3 separate regions of the Homo sapiens genome follow, and regions 1 and 3 are each linked to region 2. Evidence: promoter capture Hi-C in 16 types of primary human blood cells and fetal thymus (Javierre and others, 2016). All regions are on one chromosome and are shown on one strand. Each heading gives the region's core, a stretch centred on a gene start or on the middle of the fragment in contact. The rest is flanking DNA. Distances are from core to core; before and after follow the strand shown. Region 1 overlaps GABRR3 (gamma-aminobutyric acid type A receptor subunit rho3). Region 2 holds the start of ARL6 (ARF like GTPase 6). Region 3 overlaps RIOX2 (ribosomal oxygenase 2).

Evidence for each region. Contacts are between HindIII fragments. The CHiCAGO score rates a contact against its expected background, and 5 or more counts as called.
Region 1: a contact is called between a fragment that was not itself captured here and the fragment with the promoter of ARL6 in region 2, in 15 of 17 cell types (total B cells, activated CD4 T cells, non-activated CD4 T cells and 12 more). The highest score is 13.8, in total B cells.
Region 3: a fragment that was not itself captured here is called in contact with the fragment with the promoter of ARL6 in region 2 in 1 of 17 cell types (non-activated CD4 T cells); the score reaches 5.4 in non-activated CD4 T cells.

Annotation. Positions count from the first base shown.
Region 1 is chr3:98,015,375-98,018,915 of GRCh38, forward strand. GABRR3 (gamma-aminobutyric acid type A receptor subunit rho3) reads right to left here. Exons shown (of 10, transcript NM_001105580.3): 4 at 2,281-2,348. Among named protein-coding and RNA genes, the nearest start is that of GABRR3, 18 kb to the right of the region's middle. The HindIII fragment of the contact is 572 bases long and covers 1,064-1,635 here.
Region 2 is chr3:97,763,406-97,766,714 of GRCh38, forward strand. ARL6 (ARF like GTPase 6) reads left to right here and starts at 1,353. Exons shown (of 8, transcript NM_001278293.3): 1 at 1,353-1,572. RefSeq lists enhancers at 684-1,185, 821-1,360, 1,186-1,685, 1,401-1,510. The HindIII fragment of the contact is 6,880 bases long and covers 1-3,309 here.
Region 3 is chr3:97,945,928-97,949,173 of GRCh38, forward strand. RIOX2 (ribosomal oxygenase 2) reads right to left here. Exons shown (of 10, transcript NM_153182.4): 8 at 1,434-1,522. Among named protein-coding and RNA genes, the nearest start is that of RIOX2, 25 kb to the right of the region's middle. The HindIII fragment of the contact is 931 bases long and covers 944-1,874 here.

The sequences.
Region 1 (3,541 bases), core at 100-2,599, 250 kb after region 2:
CAGTAGAAACAGGGTTTCCTCATGTTGGCCAGGCTGGTCTCGAACTCCTGACCTCAAATGATCTGGCCACCTTGGCCTCCCGAAGTGCTGGGATTATAGGCATGAGCCACTGCTCTTGGCCCAAACATTAAATTGTTTACTACTTTGGGTAGAATGGAGATAAAAAACTAAAATTCAAACCAAATACAAAATTGAAACCAAACCAAAACATATTCATAAGCTGCATCTTACTAGTAGGTACCAGTTAGGGCCTTTATCATTAACTCCTGAAAGTGGTGTAGTATTGAAAGAAAAGGAAAGAGATCCATCTAAAGAGGATGACGGAAAAGATAGCAATTGAGGACAAAGAAATGAGATGGAAAAAGCAATTTAAATATAAAGACACATAGCCATTGGGTAAGAACACGTGATAGAGTTTGGATGTTTGTTCCCTCCAAATGTTGTGTTGGAATTTGATACCCAGTGTTGGAGGTGGGGCTTGAAGGGAGGTGTATTAGTCCATTTTCACACTGCTATAGAGAACTACCTGAGACTGTGTAATTTATAAAGAAAAGAGGTTTAATTGACTCACAGTTCTGCATGGCTGGGGAGGCCTCACGAAACTTACAACCACGGCAGAAGGCAAAGGGGAAGAAAGCACCTTCTTCACAGGGCAGCAGGAGAGAGAGCATGTGCAGGGGAAACTGCCACTTTCAAATAATCAGGTCTCATGAGAACTCTTTCACTATCACAAGAACAGCATGGGGGAAACTGCCCCCATGATCAAATCACCTCCCACAAGGTCCCTCCCTCAACATGTCAAGATGAGATTTGGGTGGGGAACACAGAGCCAAACCATATCAGGAGGTATTTAGGTCTTGACGGCAGATCCTTCAGGAATAGCTTGGAGCCATCTTCTTAGTAATGAATGAGTTCTCAATTATTTCCCATGACAGTCTTCTCCCTTCTTCACCCCTGCCACCTGGAGCTGGTTGTTGAAAGAACCTAGTACCTCCCCCACCCCCCATTCCTCCTTCTCTTGCCATGTGATGCCTGCTCCCGTTCACCTTCCACCATGAGTAGAAGCTTCCTGAGGCCCTCACCAGGAGCAGATGGCGGTGTCATGCTCCTTGTATGGCCTGCAGAACCATGGGCCAAGCAAACCTCTTTTCTTTATAAACTGCCCAGCCTCAGGTATTCCTTTACTGTAACACAAACAGACTAAGACAACAAGGAAACAGGTGCTGAAAATTTGAAGCTGTAAAGGCACCCTTTATTTGGGATAGAAAAACAAACTGAAGGGGGCTCAACCAAACTCTGAAACTACATTAACAAATTAATAGATCAAGAGTGAGTAAAAAGGAAATATATCTGAAAACAAATATGTAGGTGCTTGTATGTATAAGCTAGCAATGTTATTAACTATTCTTAGAGCAAAAAAACTGAAAAACCTAAAATCACTTAAATGAAAAATGTCTCTGGTAATTATGTAAACAAGGAAAGTGGTCCTAAATTGGGAATAGAGAAAATAAAATGGAAAATTACGGTTGATAATATTAAAACATAAAAATAGCCAAAGTGATTAAGGGACGGGAAGAAGAAACAGAAAAGCAAGGCATGCAAAATGTCATAGAAGACAGAAAAAGGCTAACAGGAAGCTTGAAGATAAGGGATCAGTTTCAAGTTTTATGGATATTTCATAGAGTGAATAATACTCTAGGAAAATACAGATGTTTCATTGCAAAATTAAATAATGGCAGTCTTTTTTAGATTTCTAGAAAAATATAAGGGAGTAGACAAATTTTTAATTAAATTTTTAGTCCCATGAACTTAAAAAAATTCTTTGTCCTCTGCTACTGGTTGTCTACAGATAAGCAAAATTAATATCATTTGATATATTTGAAAGCAGTCCATCAATGCTGGTTCAACTGTTTATTATTTTACAGGCAAGGACTCATGATTCGGATTTCATATCGCACATATAGTATGGTCATCCTTCTGTTTATACAATTGTTCCCAGTTCTTGCTACATTGGTAAATATATCATGATGTTCTACAGTGTTCCACCACTAGAAATCCATTAGAAGGAAAATAGAAGAGTAGAAAAGGAATGAGAATTCTAATCAAGGTTAGAATGAAGAGGATGGAAGAGAGCACAGCAATCATGACCCTATGATTAATCAAAGTAGGAGACATAAATAACATACATAATTAAAATGATTTATTAAAACACTAGTGATTTTGACACTGCCGAGTTTCTGTCTTTTCAGAAAAAGAGCAATATCCCATGAAGAAACTTACCATGTTAGTCTCTGAAATGCTGTCAATGCTTTCAACATGGACATCTATACCTACTGGCACTGGAGACCCTTAAGAAAGAAGAATGGTTAATATGCTGAGGAATGCATTATAATCATTTTAAAACCATTTAAAACAGAGAGATTAATTCTCTTGGACAGCAACTGAATTACTGTTAAAGTTTTTTTAAACAACAAATTTCTCCATTATTCATTGAATCAGTTATTATATACTCAATTATTATAATAAAGGCACATGTGTAAATAAATGGTATTCTAATAATCATTACTCATTTGCTTGGGATCATGCCAATAATTTCCTCCTCTAGTATAAGAGTGGTGCCTCCAGTTTTCTTTTTTTTTTTTTTTTAGTTTTTTATTCTTTTTACCTACTAGTGATTTAAAAAGGAAAAGTGTTTTGAAAACATGTCTTAAGAGTATGTAGAATTATGTACTCTTAAGTACAAATATGGTAATGGTCATATCTCATAGTCAGGGAGTGTCATAGAATCCTTGACGTGGGCAATGTTGGGACCTTTTCTCTGGTGTCAAAAATATCAGCCTTTTCCATTTGTGCTGTGGTTGGTGGAGTAGAGGAACACAGAGAAAATTTTATTGAGACTAAAAGTACAGTGCCACACAGGGACAACACAGATCAGATTCCGAAGTGTCCCTTTGCAGATCAGCAGCAACCACAGGCTGCATTTGTGAAGAAGCAAATATCCTTAGAAATCCATTTAATGAGAAAATACTGAGAGTAGAATTGGAGCAATTTCAGACAGAGCACTGCTGACACTTGTACAGTTGAGTCACCCAGAATCAGGTTCATGGGCCCAGAAAACCTGAATGACAACCAACAGAATCCAGACTAGACTGACATTTCCTAGTTACACCTAACAAACGATTTCACCACTTCCAGTGTGAGTCGAAATTGATGTTAGTAACATCAACATTTAGTTTTGCGATGGAAATTTTATGTACATATGTGTTAAAATAATTTATATATTTATATATGTAGTCTTTTATATGTTCTCTTTCCATATAAGCCATTCTCGATTAAACCTTATTGTCTCTATAGTCCTGAGTTTTAAAAAATGTTTTCAATTATGGTTGAGAAAATATAAATCCTGCCTAAATGGATCCAAGCTGGTTGTTTTAATCGAGATTCAAAGATTTAGGCCGGGCGTGGTGGCTCACTCCTGTTATCCCAGCACTTTGGCAGGCCGAGGTGGACGGATCACTTGAGGACAGGAGTTTGAGACCAG
Region 2 (3,309 bases), core at 103-2,602:
GAAAGAATGTATTTCCATACTCCATTTTTACAAGGACATTTATATGTTGATATGCATCCATAGGGTCTTTGTTTTGTTTTTGTCTTTCAACAAGAATCACTAATCCAGAGCCGCTTTTGTTTTTTCGCTGTAAAAATGACAATTACATTTGGAAATTTGGAGAAGTGACAAAAGATAAATCACCCCATAATCACACGCTTACAACCGTCCCCCCTACCATATTACTTTGAAATAATTCCTTCTAGTCTCTTTTTGCACCCTCCTAGTCCATTTAATAGGCCAAATGAATTGACAGGCCAAAGAACAGGCAGTGCAGTAAACATACACTAGCTAGTTGAAAAGGGTCGCGCGGTGGGGGGCAGGGGGTCGGAAATCCTACACCCATGCAAACAAAAAAAATGAAGAGATACAAACCCCTATTTGAAGAATGAGGCCATTCGCTGGGGGTGAGGTTAGTGGAGTTGGGCAGATTGAAAGGCTAGATCTTTAAAATGACTGCATCTGTAATGTGTCCGTTGGAAAACGCAGTAATAAAAGATGTGGGGAAGGGTATGCCTAAATATTTTCTATTTGAAGACCATTTGTGACTATGACTATAAAATCCAAGTGCAATTTAAGAAGGTGGTCAACTTTAAGTATTGACTATTAATACCTTTCCTGACCACCTGCCGATTTGATTCTGGAGACTGTAATCTACTCACAGGAGATTATGCCTGGTAGAAATCTCTTCGGGAGACCACACAACTAAGAAGCAGGGGTACAGGCATACTTTATTAGCCGAATAACACCTTTTGACTTTTTACACCAGTTCTCCCCTCTACCTTCCTGTATTAACAGTTTTACCTCTACAGGGACTCAGGGTGGGAGGCCTATCAGAACCCAGAGAAGAGTCGGTGCGATGGGCAACTGGGGAACTCCGGCGCACATCTTGCCCCAGGGGGGACAGTATCGTCTTGCAGTCGTTGCCACAACGCTACGCTGGTGCCCGGTAACGACACTCTCCGCGCCACACCCAGCGCCAGCCTCTTGGATCCCCAGGAAGACCAGGGCCGAGCGACAAACACGCAGCACACGCGAACGCCAAACGCTTCCCAGAAAGCTGTGCGCGAGCCTACAACTCCCATGATGCTACGCCGGGAACTGCCCGGCTCCTCGCAGGAAATAGGCAGCTCACCCTGCCACCTGTGCACACATTTTTCTTCAATGTATAGTTCCTCGGCGCGCCTCTGACCTTTTCCCGGAGCTCTTCAATCCCAGAAGCTATAGCACAACGGCTGAATCGCCAGGACCCCCGGGGAGGCGTGGCTTCAGGACCGGAAGAAGCTCCTGTTGCCAAGGGAACGGTGCCTGCCAAGGCGCCTGCTCAGCGACTGATGCACAGACTGCTGCAGAGGCTGCCGGTTTTCCCAACTTCTAGAGACGGCTTTGCTCATTACCAGGCATCCTTCCCATGTAGGCATCGAGAAGAAGGCTGAGGGACCCTCGCACCAGATTTCCATCCCGGAGACCGATACGAGTGCGTCCATTCCTGTTGCCAGCTCCTGCGCCCTCCGGACTAACCTCAAAAACCAGGTATCTCCTCAACGCCGGTTTTTAAAGCCAGCGCCACCCTCTGTCCCCGTCAGTTTTAGAATTCCTCTTTGGTCTTTCCCATGTTTTTCACTCCACGCGTGTAGTTGTTGCTAATGTATGAGAAGTAGAAAAGAAGGTGAGTTATAGAGGCCCTAGAAAACTTACTAAACTGGTTTGGACGTATGTTTGGTTGATGGGTTTTAACAATGCTCAACTTAGACCCGTGTATTGGGGGTGTGTGTGTGTGTGTGTGTGTGTGTGTGTGTGTGTGTGTAAGTGTAATTTAAATTATATCATAAAAAACTGAAAGCCGAATAAGAATGTTTATTTGGGGTAATAAAAGTAGGCAACATTTCAATCAACAAACACTTTACAGAGTTTACTAAGTATCATTCGTGGTGTTTTCTCTGGGCTACCACTCTGTCTCTGCAGCTTACCCTCTAAGCTGTTAACTGTGGATAACATCCTAATTCTTCTGGACTTCTCTGGCAATATGTAATCCTTTAGGAAACAGTCTGTCAGACAATAACCAAGAGAATTTGGCTGGTGTGCAAAGAGAGGGTTACAGTAAGATAAGAAACAAGAAAGGAAGATTGGAGCCAGATTGTGGACAACCTTAAAAGCTGTGCTTGGAAGTTTGAAACTACTGGCTTTATTCTGAAAGCCAGTAGTTCTCAATAGTAACTTCACATCAGAAACACTGGGTAGCTTTTAAAACTACAGATGCCCTGATCTTATTTTCAAAAATTCGGATTCAGCAATTGATTTCAGAGTGCAGCCAGGGTTGAGAATCATGGCTATCAGAGTAGGAAGCTGCAGAAAACAGTTGTGTCTCTCGCTGCACACTTAAGACACGATTAACAAATATTGACTGGCTTCAATTATCTTTTATTTATGCATGCAGAAAGTCAACTTATGGAAGGAAAATTATAACTACTTGAAACGTAGAAGTTTAAAGGCTCTATGATAGTTGTTTATAAAGCAATTTCAATAAATGTGATTACCTCTTTTAGAAAAACTGCCTGCTCTTCTAAATTGTGTGTCCCAAAATATTTCATTAACAAGTATCAAGTGATAATCCATGGAAAAGTGATGGAAAGTCACAATACAAGGTACTGTGAAAAACGAATATTCAAGCATCAGGCTTTAAACACTCAGTGCTTTATAGTAGATGCTTAAAGGGGGGAAAATGTGAGAAGTTGTCGTTTTTAAAACATAAGTTCTAAATTATGAAATGGAGAACAAGATATAAGCATTTATATCAATATGTTTATGCAGTAAATAAAGTGAGTAATAGCAAATTTACTTTGAAATCAAATGGTATGTGTGAATTGCTTCATGACATCAGAAGGTTAATTTAAAATAGATTTTACAAATGCTGGTCCTTAAGCTGTAATTTAAAGAAATGGACTGAATAAGATTTGAATCTCTGATACAAGGAGAAAAGCAGATTGAAGTGGCACAAATGGAAGTACCTGAGGTCAAACTCATCCTTGGGGAAAGACAAACGTGGTTCTGTAATAGGCCTCACCTTTTGGCATGGCACTGTTCCATCTCTTCTCTGCACATCACTGAAATTTAGTTTTGAAATTTCTACCCATAATCATATCCCAAAAGGCCTAAGCAAAATGTTGACTATGCAACCTCCTTTTAGATACAGTTGTCTTGGAAGCCTGTTATTGATAAAGTTGCTGCAGCCTCACATCCTTCAAGGTATGGCCTTGCCTGAAATTGTAT
Region 3 (3,246 bases), core at 159-2,658, 180 kb after region 2:
AACACTGAAGGTGTCAGTACTAGGAAGGTTTTCCAATAGGTCAACACCAAAAAAAATTTCAAAAGCCTTGGTGCTCAAGTGAAATTTATTGAATACTGTAAAGAATCCTTTTGGCAAAAAGTGACGGGTGTGTGCATCCACACAATGTCTATACTTCATTAGTCACCACAGGTTACTATTTGTATGTGGCAATTAATGGGCATTCTAAGTTGTTAAAACAGCTGGAGTGCTACCTGGAAGAGCATCTTCAGGATTTAATGAAAAAGCAGTGATTTATGTATCAACTTATCAATGAAATCCTCAGTTTTTTTAATCATACCTGCACTATCTTTTTTGAATAAAAAAATCTGACATTTCTAGGTATAAACTGACAATTTATAATCATGAAGTCATTAACTCCTGAGAAATACCAGCTGTGTGATCGATAAAAAACTCCATTTCAATTACACTACCCTCCCAAATGGTCCCTATCTCCCTTCACTCCCCATGTTACACAGTGCAGTTTATTGTCTCTTCCAGAGCCTTTAGTCATTCTTTGTCACCTCTTAGATAAGGGCAAAAAAATCTTAGCCTAGCGTACAATGTCTCAAACTGACTGGTTATCAGAATCACTATTTTTTTTTTAGACAGGGATGTAGGAATGTGTACTTTTGAGGATGTATATATATATATATATATATCTATTCATGTATATTCATATATATATTCCAACTCTGGCCCTGACGGCTGGAACAATCTGGTTATCGAGACATGTTGAGTGCCCCTCTCATCCCCCTTGATCATTCATGGGATAGCTCCTTAGAGAGCTGATTAGGAGGAATGAGGTGGAGCCATATGGTATGAGATCGTTCCAAGGTCTTTAGGACTGTACAGGGAGCTCTATCAAAACATAAATCCAAAGGCTCCAAGACCAGATGAAACCCAGGAATTTATAATTTTAAAAAGCTTTCCAATTGACTCCATGATCAGTTAGCCAGTTTGGGGAATCACTGGGCTAGGAAGCAAAATTACAGAATATATACTTTGTTCTCCATAATCTACAGGATAGAGTTTAAGGAGATGCAACAATATCCACAAAACCACATAGAAATATAGATCTGCACAGTGTGGAGGACTGGGGCTGAGAAACTCAGGAATGAGGTCTGTGGCTGTCCAAGCAAGAACAGTAAGGCCCGAAGTAGGATGAGAAGCAAAGACCAGACATTAATCACCACATAAAGGGGATGAAGGAAGGTTCTGTGAGGATGAGGGCAAGAAAATATGGAATTGGAACTGTGAGATTTGGTCATCATCTGACCTGAAGAAATGGCATTAAACTGAATGCAGGTGGATTCCTAAAGAAGGGCAGAGACCAGTGGTTAATCTAATAACCTGAGGCCTCTGATGAAAAACACCCTGAGAAGACAGGAAATCTCCTCCTCTTGGATACTCACAGATTGATCTTGATCCGGCAGTACTGTGAGGACAATGTGGTCTTTAAACTGCAGTCTCACTACACTGTCCAGCCTCGGTAACTTTCCACCTAGAAAACCCCAAAGAGAGAAAGCCGACCTTCAAAAAAGGAAACAGGCAGATTCAAACTTGCTTATACATACACATAGGAAACACATTTACTAACAATTTACAGGTGAATCCAAACATGGCATACACTCCAACTGAAGAATTTGCTTACCCCAACATTGTACTGATATTATAGTTCACATCATTATGCAGCTCATTCTTACAGTGAAGACAGACATAGATAAATAATGTAAGTTTATAAGTACAATAAATAGACAAAAATAATACCATCGAAGTACAGTGGCTATCATAGCACATAAGGCTGTGGTGCTTTCTGCACAGAACACTCACTCCTCCAGGTTCTGTCCTCTACAAGCTTCTCGCTCAACATATGGACTCTGGAAGTACTACCTGAGTTCAAAATTGCACTACTCCACCAATTATTAGGTGTGTGACCCTGGTCAATTATTCAGTCTATGTAAGTCAAGAATAGTATCCTATAAAAGCCATCTAATAAAGTCCACAGAAAATTTTTTTTTTCCAAATTGGATTTAACTTAGTGGAACAATACCCAATAAAAACAGACTAGCCTTACAGGGTCATCTGCGTGGGGAAGGAGTCGTGAGGGATCATCACTTTATTGAGTATAATGCCTAAGATAAGGAAAACACTGAAGTAGTCTGGGCCATAAGCTGGTGCATAAGCAAACTGTTCTGCTAAAGATTAAACCATGTGCTTGTAAAACATTTGCTATTTTGAATAGATACAATCAAAAACAAATTCTAAGCTTCCTCCAAAGACTATGATAAAAATGTATATAGAATCAGTGTTGGAAGGGACCTTATAGATTATCTATCTCAGTGGTTCTCTCTTGGTCATAATTAAGAGTTTTATTAAAGTTAGTAAAAAATACTCTTTTCACTCAACCCTGAGAAAGAACAGCAGCCAAAAAGCTGGCCTGGCACTCACAGCTAGGTCTTTGTGTTCTCCTGTTGAACACAGGCAATTCCACAGAATGCTAACATCAGAGATCACTGTCACCATGATAGGTCAAAACAAAACACCACCACTCCGTACATACTCATGTCTGGACTCAGGCAAGGCAAGAACATATTCCAAACCACAACACTGACCGAACATCCCCCTACTCTGGCTAATGAGTGACCACTTCCGCTTTACCATTGATAACTTCAGCCTCATACATTCCTCCTGCCTACCAGATAACATTTAGGAGACTTAATCATAGAATCCCTTCCATTTCCTGACAGCATCCAATCCAGAGCAAAGCCCTGCTTCCTTGAACCCTCTCCAAAATCACCTAACATACACCTGAGTCCTATAAGTCTTTTCTAACACCGTTTTACTGAGATGCCCTGCAGTTCTCAATGGTGTGTGGTCTTCCCACTGCAACAAGTCAATAAATCCAATTTCGTCTGAATTCAGGAGTATGTTCTTGGTGGTCTTTGCTATAGGATACTGACATCATCCATCTGGAAGTCATCAATGACATCATCCATCCAAAAGTATGTTATATCATTTGCAGCCTAAATCTGTCATAAATTAGGCACCTGTGCCTTGGAGAAGGTTGATGATAATCTTGGACATTTCTTGAATCTCACTGGCTGATGGTAACAATTTTACCCATGCTATGATTTGGATGTTTGTCCCATCCAAATCTCATGTTCAAATTTGATCCCCAGTGTGGAGGTGCAGCCTAAGGGGAGGTGTTTGGGTCACATTGTGGGG